Regions from separate parts of the Homo sapiens genome. Here regions 2 and 3 are each linked to region 1. Evidence: promoter capture Hi-C in 16 types of primary human blood cells and fetal thymus (Javierre and others, 2016). All regions are on one chromosome and are shown on one strand. Each heading gives the region's core, a stretch centred on a gene start or on the middle of the fragment in contact. The rest is flanking DNA. Distances are from core to core; before and after follow the strand shown. Region 1 holds the start of SRRM4 (serine/arginine repetitive matrix 4). Region 2 holds the start of CCDC60 (coiled-coil domain containing 60). Region 3 overlaps CCDC60 (coiled-coil domain containing 60).

What was found. Contacts are between HindIII fragments. The CHiCAGO score rates a contact against its expected background, and 5 or more counts as called.
Region 2: a contact is called between the fragment with the promoter of CCDC60 here and the fragment with the promoter of SRRM4 in region 1, in 9 of 17 cell types (M1 macrophages, endothelial precursors, neutrophils and 6 more). The highest score is 14.5, in M1 macrophages.
Region 3: a fragment that was not itself captured here is called in contact with the fragment with the promoter of SRRM4 in region 1 in 1 of 17 cell types (M2 macrophages); the score reaches 5.2 in M2 macrophages.

Annotation. Positions count from the first base shown.
Region 1 is chr12:118,978,827-118,983,570 of GRCh38, reverse strand. It overlaps SRRM4 (serine/arginine repetitive matrix 4), which reads right to left and starts at 2,030. Exons shown (of 13, transcript NM_194286.4): 1 at 1,558-2,030. The coding sequence starts at 1,688. The HindIII fragment of the contact is 13,569 bases long and covers 1-4,744 here.
Region 2 is chr12:119,331,338-119,335,978 of GRCh38, reverse strand. CCDC60 (coiled-coil domain containing 60) reads right to left here and starts at 1,250. Exons shown (of 14, transcript NM_178499.5): 1 at 713-1,250. The coding sequence starts at 802. The HindIII fragment of the contact is 1,172 bases long and covers 1,072-2,243 here.
Region 3 is chr12:119,371,809-119,376,501 of GRCh38, reverse strand. All of the region lies in intron 1 of CCDC60 (coiled-coil domain containing 60), which reads right to left. Among named protein-coding and RNA genes, the nearest start is that of CCDC60, 39 kb to the right of the region's middle. RefSeq lists an enhancer at 597-656. The HindIII fragment of the contact is 2,427 bases long and covers 328-2,754 here.

The DNA of each region.
Region 1 (4,744 bases), core at 781-3,280:
GCAGCACCTGATTAGCCAACAGTAGGTACGTTCCAAAGGTGGAATAGATAGCAGAAACCCAGGAAGATAAAAACCACTGACGTCAAAACTCTATACACAGAACCTCCTTCGGAGCAGAGAAGCATCAGCCTTTAATGGCATTTGGTATTATTGTTCCCCTTCTCCAGCCTGTGTCAGTGGGTGGGTGGGTGTCCCCTCCTTCCCGTCTGCAAACACTGGCTGGTGCTGCTTTAGCTTGAAGCCTGCTACACCCTACTGGCCTGTTGTGATGCTTGGCCACCCATTCCTAAATGGGACACCTATTTCTCTAAAGACCTGTATGATCCTCAATAAGACAGTGAAGAGGAAAACTTCTCCAATCTGGCTTTGATTCTTCAGACATAATTTCCCATACGTCTTCCACCTCACACTCACTGGAAAGTTCAGAATCAGTTGTGCCAGAACAGACGTTCAGTCTGTCCTAAGCACTTTTGCAGACATGTTTTCAATCTGCTCCCTAATGCAGACTGCCAGGATTAATAAATCCTCCAAGTGGTCCCCCTGGTCCACTTCTTTCTTTTCTCCTACTAAACCACTCATCCAACACCAGCAAAAGATGAGTTTTCATACTACCTTGATTTTCCCTGACAGAGAGCACAGCCTTCTTCCCTTCATTCTTAAACTCCTCTAAATTGAATGATTTATGAAAAGAATTGGATTTTTCTCTGTCTTGGAATGCTTCCATTTTCCCCCAACCTCCTCTCCCTCTCACCCCACCTCCTGTTCCCCTGTTTCTTTCATTTCTTCCCTTATTCTTCCTTCCATCAGCACCATGTCTACCACCATCCAAGGATCGGTTCTCATCCCTGAGTTCAAAGCAATCAGATTCTTTTTGGAAAAAAAAAAAAAAAACAAAAAAAAACAAAATAAAACTCTTCCAAGATCATCTTCACGATCTTGGAAGGCTCCTCCCTGACTCCTGAGCTCAGAGTCTTGGTTTTGGATGCTGGAGAGGAGAGAATTCAGCAGCAGCGGCAGCAGCCGCCAGAAAGGCGTGGAGGAGGGTGCTGTTTTGGGTGTATTTGAGGGAACAGCATATGGGCTTTTGTCAAAAATGTTCAAAGCTCGCTAGTTTCCGAGCCGAGGATGGAAATGTGTGCTATCTCTGAACGCTGCTTGAGCTGGCTCAGTTCTCCTTTTCTGGTACAACACCCCCCAAACATCTCAAATCCACCATTCCTTGGCCCACCTGCCCTCTGGACTCTGTGACACCAAGAAAAGTTTTTCAGTCAAGTCGTACCCCATCTGCACCGCCCACCCTCAGGTAGCAAAACCTCTTGAATAGGAGCTACGGGGGTCCAATAAGCGTTGCTTTCCCCCAAAGAATTCCTGTCCCTTCTCACCATCTTCCACCTCACACAAGCAATGAGTTCCCATGTTTCAGCGGGAGCCGCCGAGTAGTGACGGGAAAAGACAGGCGCCCTGGCCCGGCTGCCTGCATCCACCCCTCCGGGCTCTGGGGCACAGGCCAGAAAGGAGGACCTTCAGGATCCCCCCTTCTAAGAAGGAGATCATTACCTTGGCAGCGGCTTGCGGGCCGTGATACTGGCGACAATGATGCTCTCGGGACGGGGGGTGGCCACCGCTTTGAAGGTTCCTCGCCAGAACTTCTCAAAAAGCTGCTTCTCGCCTTGCTGAACGCTCGCCATCGCCAACCCAAAGGGGCCGGGGCGTCCGGGGCGCTGTCCAAAGTGCTGAAACGTGGATTCCAAACGGGGGCGACACCCAGCTCCCGGCTCTGTCCGGGTGAAACCCAGAGAGGGGTGGGGTGGGAGAGATCGGAGTTCAGGGCGGGGGATGGGACGCCCCAGCCCGGGCAGGCAGCAGAGAAAGGAGGCTCGTCCGCTGGGCTTTCTTCGCCCTTCTGGGTCGGCTCCAGGCTGCGCTCTGAGCTGGCTGAGCCTCTGCGCCCCAAGAAGGGAAGGGAGGGCTGGCTTTCTGGGCAGCACCAGGAGAGAAGAGGCGACGGGGTCGGATGTGTGTGCGTGCGCGTGTGAGCTCCGGCGCGCCCGGGTTTTGTCTCTCGCACAATGTGACGTTGGAAGAGGAGGCTGGTCGCGCGAGCTGCACTTTCCTCCCCCCTCTCCGTCTCTCCTCCTCCCCACCAACCCCCTCCTCCTCAGGCTCAGCCTCCTGCCGCCATCTGCATAACAAAAGCCCGCAGGTCTTGGGAGGAGAAAGGGCGGGGCGTGCGCCTGTCACCAGGGCCCCGCGGCGACCGAGTTGCAGCGCTGATCCCTCTGAGAAGCCATCCTGGCACCCCAATCTGCGCCAGGCAGGAGATCCTGCTTCCCAGGCCCCTCTCCTCTCCCATCATCGCTGGCCTTCCTCAGCCCTTTCCTGGGTGCCCCCTTTGGGCCAGGCCACCTTTCTTTCCAGCCCCTTCGCAAGTCTTGTAGCTGATCTTCTGCGTGGGGGGGGGGGGGGGGTTGGGGGGGCTCGTAAAAAACTTAATCTATCCACCCCAGCCGGCCTCCCCCAGACCCTCACTTTTGGGAGACACGGCCTAGGCCGGTACAGAGGGTGCCCTGCGTTCCTCTTTGCGCCGGGGGTTAGCGAGGTCTCCACCACCCAGAAAGTGCCATTTGATAGACAATCCCTCACCAATTCGGCTTCTCGCCATCTGCCGAGCAGGGCCCCCGCCCGCCAAGGGGCGCAGCGTTACATCTGTGCATGCGGAGCTGTCAAGGGTATCTCTTTTGTGTCTCACAGCCGGCCTGCCCAGCGTCCCCGCCGCCAACCCCGTCCAGAGGAAAGAGTTCCCATCTCACCCCACCCCACCCCCATCCACTCCTGGGGAATCCGCCTGCAGCCACTTTTCCTAATGCCGCTAGTCTCGGGAAAGGAGTACGTTTTGGAAAAGAAAGCGCTTAGTGGGAGGGTTGGAGAGGAAAATCTCGAGGATTAGCAGGGGGATAGTTACTTTTCGGTCTCTCCTCCCCATCTCCTTACCGCCTCGCAGTTCAATCGTAATCCCAAGCAAGTGGAGGTTTAGAATCCCAAATCAACCCCAGACACAGAAGATCTGGTTAGAATGACTCTTGTTTTCCCCCAGGGTTTTCATTATAAAAAAAAGAGATCGTGGCGGGACCCCTCAGCCCTTGCCTTCCTGGAAGCCTTTTAATCTTAGCAGAGTTGTTACTCCCCCATCTCCCACCTAACGCCCTCCCCCTCCCCCCAACCCCGCTTCCACTTTCCAGGCTGTAAATTCCTGGAAGGAGGCCTCGCTCAGTCTTAAATGCCTCCAAGCACCTGGTGCTGAGTCCCAGTCACAGCGAGAATAAACTCCTGCTCTTTGCTAAAGCAGATAGCAATGGGGACCCAATGAGGGCGGGGTAGGGCGGGGGGGTCGGGAGAACAATGGGAACTCCAGAAATTCTCTGAAGGGGAACAGGAGGTAACTAGGAGGTGAAGATGAAGAGGCCAACAGAGAGGATAAGATGGGGCAGGAGAAGAAAGAACCTTGGAGTAAATGAGTACCCGCCCCAAAGGGTATCTACGTTTGAAGTGTGTGTGTTCGACACGCCTGCGTCCGCTTATTTGAGTGCCTGAGAGCGCTACTTGCTCTGCAGTGACCCCTTCTGGTCAACAACGAGAGGTGCATTTGCTGGCTTCTTATGTGGGTTGCCGGGGGAGAGGGCCCAGAGGTGGGGGTCAGGCCTGGGAAGGTTGGAGATGGAGCAAAGTGGAGACTAGGCTAACCCCTTCCCTTCCTCTCCCTCTTACCTTGCGCCCCAAATCCCCCATTCCCTGATTGGGCTAGACCCCCGTTTCCCACCCAGAAGTTGGTATCATTGTAAATGCAATCTAGAGCTGGCTTCTTATAGGTAGCAGACTGGCATCTTTAAAACTAACCTTAGTCATGACATTTAGGGTATGAACTGAGTCACTTGCAGGAGAGAGGTAGGTGGGATCCTACCCCCACAAGATCAGTCAACATCTTCCAGTTGTGTGCCTGCTCCTAATCCCTAAAATGTTGATAGAGCTCCCATATGCAAAACATTGCCTTTTTAAAATCCCATCGTAGCCAGATGAGGTGGGAGAGAAAGCTGATCTTATTCTATTTTATTTATTTATCTTATTTCAATAGCTTTAAGGGTGCAAGTGTTTTTTGGTTACATGGATGAATTGTATAGTGATGAAGTCTGGGCTTTTACATACCTGTCACCCGAATAGTACCTTACCCCCAAAAGGCCATTATTAAAAAGTAAAAAAAAAAAATAGATGGTGTAGATGCAGTGAAAAGGGAACAGTTATACACTGTTGGTGTGGATGTAAATTGGTACAACAACTATGGAAAACAGTATGAAGATTTCTCAAAGAACTAAAAGTAGACCTGCTCATTCTTTTATAAAGACACATGCATGTGTATGTTCACTGCAGCACTACTCACAATAGCAAAGACATGGAATCAACCTAAATGCCCATCAGTGATAGACTGGATAAAGAAGTTGTGGTACATATACACCATGGAATACTACGCAGCCATGAAAAGAATATCATGTCCTTTGCAGGGACATGAGTGGAGCTGGAGGTCATTATCCTTAGCAAACTAACATAGGAACAGAAAACCTGATACCACATGTTCTCACTTATAAATGGGAGCTAAATGATGAGAACACATGGGCATATAGATGGGAATAACACACACTGGGGCCTTTTGGAGGGTGGAAGTTGGGAGGAGGGAGAGGATCAGGAGAAATAA
Region 2 (4,641 bases), core at 1-2,500, 350 kb before region 1:
CTGAGAATGATGATTTCCAATTTCATCCATGTCCCTACAAAGGACATGAAAACCATAAAAACCCTAGAAGAAAACCTAGGCAATACCATTCAGGACATAGGCATGGGCAAGGACTTCACGTCTAAAACACCAAAAGCAATGGCAACAAAAGACAAAATTGACAAAAGGGATCTAATTAAACTAAAGAGCTTCTGTACAGCAAAAGAAAGTACCATCAGAGTGAACAGGCAACCTACAAAATGGGAGAAAATTTTCGCAACATACTTATCTGACAAAAAGCTAATATCCAGAATCTACAATGAACTTAAACAAATTTACAAGAAAAAAACAAACAACCCCATCAAAAAGTGGGCAAAGGACATGAACAGACACTTCTCAAAAGAAGACATTTATGCAGCCAAAAAACACATGAAAAAATGCTCATCATCACTGGCCATCAGAGAAATGCAAATCAAAACCACAATGAGATACCATCTCACACCAGTTAGAATGGCAATCATTAAAAAGTCAGGAAACAACAGGTGCTGGAGAGGATGTGGAGAAATAGGAACACTTTTACACTGTTGGTGGGACTGTAAACTAGTTCAACCATTGTGGAAGTCAGTGTGGCGATTCCTCAGGGATCTAGAACTAGAAATACCATTTGACCCAGCTAATTCCTATTTCACTTGTTCTCGAAAACATGATTGGTTTCAGCAGAGGGGAGACTTACCTGCCTTAGGTTCTCCGAGGCATAAAAGGGCCGGACAGCCCCCGAGTTGGGGGAACTCTGAAGCTTCTTGGTGGCTGGAACCTTGGTCATCTTAAAAATCCTTCAGGTTTTAGCCTGTGCCCCCAAGACAAGGATTTTTCCAGAATCTTCTACTTCAGTAGTTACTGGTATGAGAAGTTTCGGCAACTTCTCCCTGATCCCCAAGTCCCAATTACACGAACTCCAAAGCGGTTTCCTTCTGAAGAGTAATGAGAAAGCACCTGGGTCTCCCACAGACGGGATAAGGAAGTCCGGGTAGGGCAGAATCAGGCAAGCCTGGACTTATTTACTTTTTGAAAGGTTATAAACTTCTGTAAGCTTCCTCCTCTTCGGAAGGGATATCTTTCTCTTCTATAAGCAAAATAAAATATGAACTAAAAAATAAATAAAATTCCAGTGACAAAGTGTGAGAGGGGTCCCATGGAGGGGCTCCCAGATCGCCATCCTCCGAGAGCGGCCGAGAACTAAGGCGGCCCCAACGAGGGGTTTATCGCACTGCGGGGAAAGTAGGCAACTGCTAACCCTTGGGCCGGGTGGGGGTGGGGGGAACCCAGTTGCTTGGCAACGGGACGCCGAGGAGGGCTTCCTCATTGGCTGGAATTCGTGGGGGCGGGGTCATGGGGGTCGTGAACTCTCCCAGGTTGCTGGGACGCCGGCTCAGAGCAGCCGGCTGCCACCGGAGCTGCATTCTCTAAACAAATTGGTTTCTGTTTTTAGGCCTGAGGACCATACCCTTTCTCTCTGCCTGACTACAAGCGAATCCTTCTTTTCAAACTCTGCTCTGTACTGCTGCTAACCCACTAGTAATTTTTTGTGCCTTGGGGTGGGTGGCCTGTAGTCCTGCAATTCTTAACCTGAGATGCCTATTTCTCCCGTTTTTCCACCTGACAAACTCCTGCTCATCCTTCAAAGCCCTTCATTTCATAAAATGAAATATTGTTATTCCATTTATTTAGCAAAGATTTATTGACTCTGCTAAAATAAAATATAATAAAGTAAAAATGAAATTAAAAAAAATGAGACCTTCAGGACTTCACGATCTATAGTGTGTATGTTTGGGATGGGGAGCAAAAGATAAGAAACATTGTTATAAGGCAGGATGATTTATGATGTGCTGGGAAAGTATCATAGGGTATTGTGGGAGCAAAGAAAAGGGACAGCTGTATATAGATATAGATATATGCACACACATACATATACACATATATGAATATACATATGTAGACATGTATATATGTGTGTATATACGTATTTGTGTGTGTGGGCATGTATGCATATGACATTTATTGAGTGCTTAGGATGTGCTAGACACTGTTCTAAGTGTCACATACTGACTCAATCCATACAGCACCTCTTTAAAGAAGGTGTTTTATTACCCCATTGTACAGCCTAAGCAACTGAAGCACAGAGACATTAAATGACAAGTTTAAAGTCACGCATGTGCTGCAGCTGAAATTCAAAGCCAGAACTGTTTGAGTCTAAAGAGCAAGCTTTTAACCACTTAGATGCCTAACTTTGCTGAGTTTGGCTTCTATGTCTTTAAAATGGGGATACTATCTTTGCCACAGGTTGTTAAGAATTGAAGTGGATGATGCATATGAAGGCTGAGCCCATGGGGAGTCCTAGCTAAGTGGTACTATTATTATTCCCTGACATCACTTCCCGAGGAAGAATCAGGCATTCTCACTGTGCTGGGTTCATTTCACAGCAGATGTTAGTACTAACTGATATTTATTGATCACTTGCTCTGTGCTAGGTACTGTACTAAGCACTTCGCATACATTAATTCATTTAATCCTTCCAATAACCCTACGGGGTAGGTTCCCAGCCTGCAGCAGATTTATTTCGTATGTTTGGATTTGAATGCCTTATCCTTGGCATTGTTTCACACTGGATCGATCTGATTCCTGTTTTATCCAACAACCTTGAGCTGCTGGGGATTATGATATCATTATGGCTGCATCTTCTCTCTTTCTTTCTTTCTTTTTCTTTTTCTTTTTTTTTGAGGCAGAGTCTTGCTGTGTTGCCCAGGCTGGAGTGCAGTGGCGTGATCTCGGCTCACTGCAACCTCCGCCTCCCGGGTTCAAGCGATTCTCCTGCATCAGCCTTCTGAGTAGCTGGGATTACAGGGGCATGCCACCAGGCAGGCCAGGCTAATTTTTGTATTTTTAGTAGAGACGGGGTTTCACCATGTTGGCCAGGCTGGTCTCAAACTCCTGAACTCAAGTTATCTGCTGGGATTACAGGTGTGAGCCATGGCGCCCAGCTCATCTTCTCTTTAGAAGGCATCTACTGCAAGATGACACTCTACAGAATGCAAAATACCTAGCCAAGTAACTCTAGATGCTGGTGCCTGAAAGTCATTATTTTCTCACCATTGCCTAAAGACTGACCCTGACCTTCCCTTTCACAGGAAGTTTTGGTTCTCCGGCTTCTTTTGTGGGCAGCATTAAGCAATCGGCAGACACTTTCAGAATGAAGCAGATAAAGGGAATCATGTTTGGGAGATAGGGCTGGGGATGAGGGGATGAGGGGATGAGAAAACAAGGCAGGATGGGAAATGTTCAGCCCTGAGCAGAACAGACAAAAGCTGTCTTCATATGATTTTGTAGAACAGGCTTGGCAAAGAGGAACTCAACTAGTTCTGTATTAGCTCAAAGAATAGGAGGAGGTTTGGGCTCAATAGGAAGAAATGTGTACACAGCAGAACATAATTTTAAAAGGTGTGACCTCTGGAATCCAACTGAATTAGCCACTGAGCAGCTTCAATGATAATTCTCATAGGACTGTGATGAAAACCAAATGGGATAACTCATGCAAAGCACAATGCCTAGCACGGAGGAAGTGCTCAATAAATATTAGCCCTTATTTCCTTTGTTGTTTTTATAATACTCACCTGTCAGAGCCATGTAAGAACTGGAAATAGGAAGGGCTCTAGAACTGAAAAGACATGCGTTCAATTCCTGGCTCTGCCATTTGTTACCAATAAGACCTGGGTCAAGTTCACTTCTCCAAGCCTCAATTTTTCACGTGTATAAAACTCATGTGTAGTGAATGGTTATGCCAATTTTATACCTGCTACCAGGATGATGAAGCAAAATAACGAATTTCCCTTCTCTGTCTAGGAAGGGGTATATTCTTTAGAGAGGGAACAAACTACCCAGCACTAGAGGTGTTCAACTAAATGCCATATGGCTTCTTGGATTTTTGATCACTTGGGGGTGTCAGACTACATGATATTTAAGGCTCTTTCCAAACCGATATTGAGAGACTATATGGAGTACTAGTTGAGCTGGTGTCTAAATCCCAACTCAGCCATTTACCAGCTGTGTGACTTTAACTAAGTAACTTATCTGCTCAAAGCTTTGGTTTTCTCATTACAGAGTGAAGATAATAGTACATTCGTGAAAATGGTATCATGTACATAAAATATTTAGTACAGTTGGCACATAATACATGCTCAATAAATGCTAGCTGTTGTTTTTTTTAATCGTATGAACAGAAGTATTTTCTAGAACGATTTAGTGCTTTGGGGGGCCAACTAGAGTTAGTAAGAAAAGCTCTTTGGTCTTATGGCATCTCCCAATCTAGCTCTAGCTGGGTGGAGAAGAATCTCTCTCTCTCTCTCTCTCACACACACACACACACACACACACACACACACACACACACACCGAAACAGTATATAAGGTGTTAATTGGGATCCTCCAAGAAGATGCCAGAATAAGATTACATGTGCTAGGGATTTATAGAGGAAAATGGTTGTGAAGGATAAAGGGGAAGGAAGAAGGAGTATATAAGGAGAGTCTGTTGAAAAGGAGAAGGAAGAAAGGATTGGGTAGGAAAAGCCATGCACTGAGACACAGCTCTGAGAAAGTCTCAGCCAGGCT
Region 3 (4,693 bases), core at 292-2,791, 390 kb before region 1:
TGCGTGCCACCATGCCTGACAAATTTTTGTATTTTTTGTAGAGACGGGGTTTCACCATGTTTCCCAGGCTGGTTTCAAACTCCTGGACTCAAGCGATCTGCCCGCCTCAGCTTCCCAAAGTGCTGCGATTACAGGCATGAGCCACTGCCCTCGGCCCTGTTTCTTCATTCTGGTTAATTGGAGACCTGCAGGTATTCCTGGAAAGATAGGACAGGAGGGATCAAAGTGATCAAGGATGAGCCTTGTAGTGTAAGGCAGTTTTTGGCAAACCCCAATCTTCAGCTCAGAGAGGGTTGCCTCTGCTGTTCCAATTGAGTGGGCTAAGCTTCACTGGGGTATTAGCAAGTGCGTTTTTCTGAAGGTGGCCATGCTTTCTTTGTTATTAATGAAATACAAGAAGAAAACGTGTCCAACACACAAATCCAGATGGGCGTGGGTGTGTGGGCTCTCTTCCAACAGCCACATTTCTTGGTATAATGTGACCTTTCTGTCTGATTACCACTCTGCTCTTTTCACCAGAGGAAAGTCAGGAGAGGAGGTCTTTTAAAGAGACAACGGGCAAGTTGATTAGGTGGCTCCACGTTTGTCAGACTTTATACTAAGAGCTTCAAGGGAGGGGCTGGTTGTTGCAGGAAGAAGCTGAGGACTTGATTCATTTCGAAAACTGTCCCCAGGGCCTTCTGGCTCACCCACTTCCCCACATTGCATCCTGCATGCATCAGAAACACATGAAATTTTCATGACATCCAAGCCACTTCCCTCCACGGCTCTATTTCTGTTCATTCTGCTGAAAACTGTCTTTGTCATATACAGGGAGCAGTTTAGGTGGACGAAGGACTCTGGTCTCTCAGTCCCTGACTCCACACCCCATTATTTTGATTGATTAAGTAAAACACAGCCATCAGTGAGCTATTCATAGAGAGACAGTTGGGGGGAGGGGCTCATGGACACATTTTATTTGTATGGGGACATTCTCTGATGGGTCAGTAGGTAGGGTGGAGGGATGTGGCCCAGCAAAGACAGCTCAGGGGGATCTTTCAAGTCCAGTGCGGAGAAAGCAATGGTGTACTAGCTGGTGAGGGTGATTGCATGAGAGCTGATTGTATGCATCTGCTTCCCAATTCTTTGTTCAGTGATCGATAGCTTGAAATTGGCCACAGTGGGAATATTTACACCATGGAAACTGGCAAACAAACATTGCAAATTAGGGTTTTTTGCTTGCTTGTTTGTTTTTTCCAGAAAGCTGGTTGTTAAACATTTACCAGCACATCAATGGGGCAAAAGTTTCTGTCCATATGGATACATTCTTAAGACACGTTGTCCCTAAACCCCACTGTCAGAGGCGCTGGAAACAGAGCAACTCTATTTTGAATAGGGACTGGGTAAAATGAGGCTGAGACCAACTGGGCTGCATTCCCAGGAGGCTAGGCATTCCTAGTCACAGAAAGATAGGCGGTTGGCAGGACTGGTATCACAAGATATGGGTCACAAAGACCCTGCCGATAATACAGTATGCGGTAAGGAAGCCAGCCAAAACCCACCAAAACCAAGATGGCAATGACAGTAACCTCTAGTCGTCCTCACTGCTCATAATTTTAATGCATTATGCTAAAAGACACTCCCACCAGCGCCAGGACAGTTTACAAATGCCAAGGCAACAACCAGAAATGACCCTTATATGGTCTAAAAGGAGGAGGAACCCTCAGTTCTGGGAATTGCCTGCCCCTTTCCCAGAAAACTCATGAAAAACCCACCCCTTGTTTAGCATATAATCAAGAACTAACTATAAATACACTCAGTTAAGCAGCCCATGCCACTGCTCTGCCTATGGAGTAGCCATTCTTTTGTTTCTTTACTTCTCTAATAAACTTGGTTTCACTTTACTCTATGGACTTGCCCCGTATTCTTTCTTATGTGCGGTCCAAGAATCCTCTCTTGGGGTCTCGATCAAGACCCCTTTCCAGGAACACCACCACCCCTCTATAGCATCTCTCATCATACCCTTTCCCGTCCAGATTGCAACTATCTATGTATTTGTCTTTATTATTTCTATAAGGTTTCCTTTCCTAGCTTCATACTTACTACCTCTGAAGTTGAGCAAGTCAGTTAACTTCTCTGTGCTTTAGTTTTCTCATCTTTAAAAAGGAGGAGAGTAATAGCATTGACCCTTATAGGTAATTTCTTCATGGCTGCCATGGATGAGTGGTGTAATACATTATATTTAATATTTTAATCTATTTAATCCTCACAATAACCCAGTGACAAAGGTATTATTATCCATCTAAGGACGAGAAGGCCCTCAGATCTTAAGTCTCTAGATGAAAGTCTAACAGCCATTAAGTGGCAGAGCTGGGATTAGAACCCAGAGCTTTTGGAATTTCAAAGTCTGTGTACCTAACCAGCACAGAAAACTGCCTCTTCAGCATAGGTTTTCTCCCTCTGGCAAGTTGGCTTCCTACTACTCAGCCCCTGGGCAAGAGCTGGTGTTCTGTCAGGAGCAGAAAAAAAAAAAAAGATAAAGTTCTCTTCATTTCCTTCAAAGAAACCTTTCTTGCCTCAAAGAGAGAGTGAGAAAGGAATTGGCTCAAGTTCATTTGAAATTCCAGGTTCATTATCCATGTACTTAAAGCCTGTCTAGATAACAAATGAAACGTGAAAAATGTAGTCAATCATCCACATGTTTGGTCTCTGCCATGTCAGAAGTGGTGTATTTTAGAAACATCTGGATGGCTAGAAAAGAGGCTAAGCCAAGCTTCCATTAATGAGAACTTGTGGAAATGAAGGGGGACGCCCCCCATCTCATTTTACAGATAAGGGAACTGAGACCCCCCCCCACCCCACCCCGGAGAGAAAGTATCTTGCCTAAGTTTGCACAGATTTTTGGTGGCAAAACTAAAGCATAAACTTTCACCAGTGCAGTTTCAAGTCCACCACGCTGCTCCTCTTTGCTGAAATTGCTCACCACGGTGACAGACATGGTCCTACACTCAGAGGCATGTAGTAAGTGGTTTGGCAGCAAGCTTCTATTGACAGTGCCTCAATTGTGATAAGCAGGGTTGGACTGATGAAAACCCCTATTTGCAAATGAGGAAACTGAGGCTCAGAGAGGTTAAGTAACTGGCTCAGAGTCACATAGCTGCCGGTGGGGTTTAGAGTGATTGGAGCCAGCTTTTCTTTAGGTCAATCAGTGTTCTCTTAAGCACCACCAAAAGAATCACAGATTATTTATTGAGTAAATGCTATGTGCTAGGCATTTTATGACTGTAAGGGAATTGGAGTTATATTCTGAGCTCCCCATTTAGCATCAGGAAGTTGAAGTTGCTCCAGGGTTAGATCCAGGTCAGTCAGCTTGACTGCATTTCAGTACTTTGTAAAGGAGACGCCACCCACTCTGCAGCTTAAACCTGACATTGCCCCCTCCTCCTGATTCCACGTTTTCCAAAATTCAAACTTTCACTTACAATCATCATAATCTATTGTGGTACTCATGCACTGCCACTTTTACTATTAATATTTTTCTTTACAGTAACGTTAAACAAAAAACCTTAAGTATCTACTTTAGTTCTCTCCTAAGCAATAATATCCACGACATTATGCTTTTGAAACGCCTTGTTAGAGTTTTCCTAATGCACTATTGAAATGAACACATCATAAACAAGGAAGAGTGAAAGTGACTGTCCATTTAAAATTACGCTGCATGTCACCATGGCGTGTGTAGCAACCTCTAAGGCCCAGGCATTGTGGCTTGTTTAGTGGGTTATGCAACCATCTCTAGGGCCCAGGTGTTGTGTGAAATCTATGTCATGCCTGCTGATAAGGCGGGGGGACTCAAGCACCGAGATATCTCTCTGAGTGGGGATTCGTAGGTGGAGGCTGAACACTGAAGCATTTTCCAGAAGCAGCTTTGGACTATGGCACTGCCTGACTTCCATAATGTGGGGGATTTTTATGTGTCAATCAAATCTCTGAGATTTTGCCCAGTGATTGTCTCTGTCTTGATTTATGTTACCCTGGGACCCTGGAAGCCACGCTATGGGAGGGTGGTTCCTAGTTACTAGGGTTCTATACATCAGCTCTAAACCTCACAGTCTCTTGAAAGATTGACATTATGCCCCAGTTTTGCAGATGAGAGCTCAGAGAGGCAAAGTGGCACAGCCATTAAGTAGAGAAGCCTAGCTTCAAGCCCAGGCTAGCCTAACTCTTAAAGATCATGCTTACCTGCCATTCTTATTTTTTATTTTTGAGACACAGTCTTGCTCTGTCACCCAGGCTGGAGTGCGGTGGTGTGATCTCAGCTCACTGCAAACTCTGCCTCCTGGGCTTAAGCAATTCTCCTGCCTCAGCCTCCCGAGTAGCTGGGAATTCAGGCACGATCCACCATACCCGGCTAATTTTTTTGTATTTTTAGTAGAGATGGGGTTTCACCATGTTGGGCCAGCTGGTCTCAAACTCCTGACATCAAGTGATCCACCCGCCTTGGCCTCCCAAAGTGCTGGGATTACAGGGGTGAGCCACTGCGTCCGGCCTAAGATCATGCTTACCTGCCATTCTAACCTCTGTCCTAGTGCCACCTCCCACCTGGGATCACCAGATTGAGAGAGTCCTTAGGTGGCATCATCACAGAGACTCAGCACAAGCCCCTTTTAATAATGGATGTAGGCTCTAGTGGATGGGCTCTTCCCAGAGCCAGGGA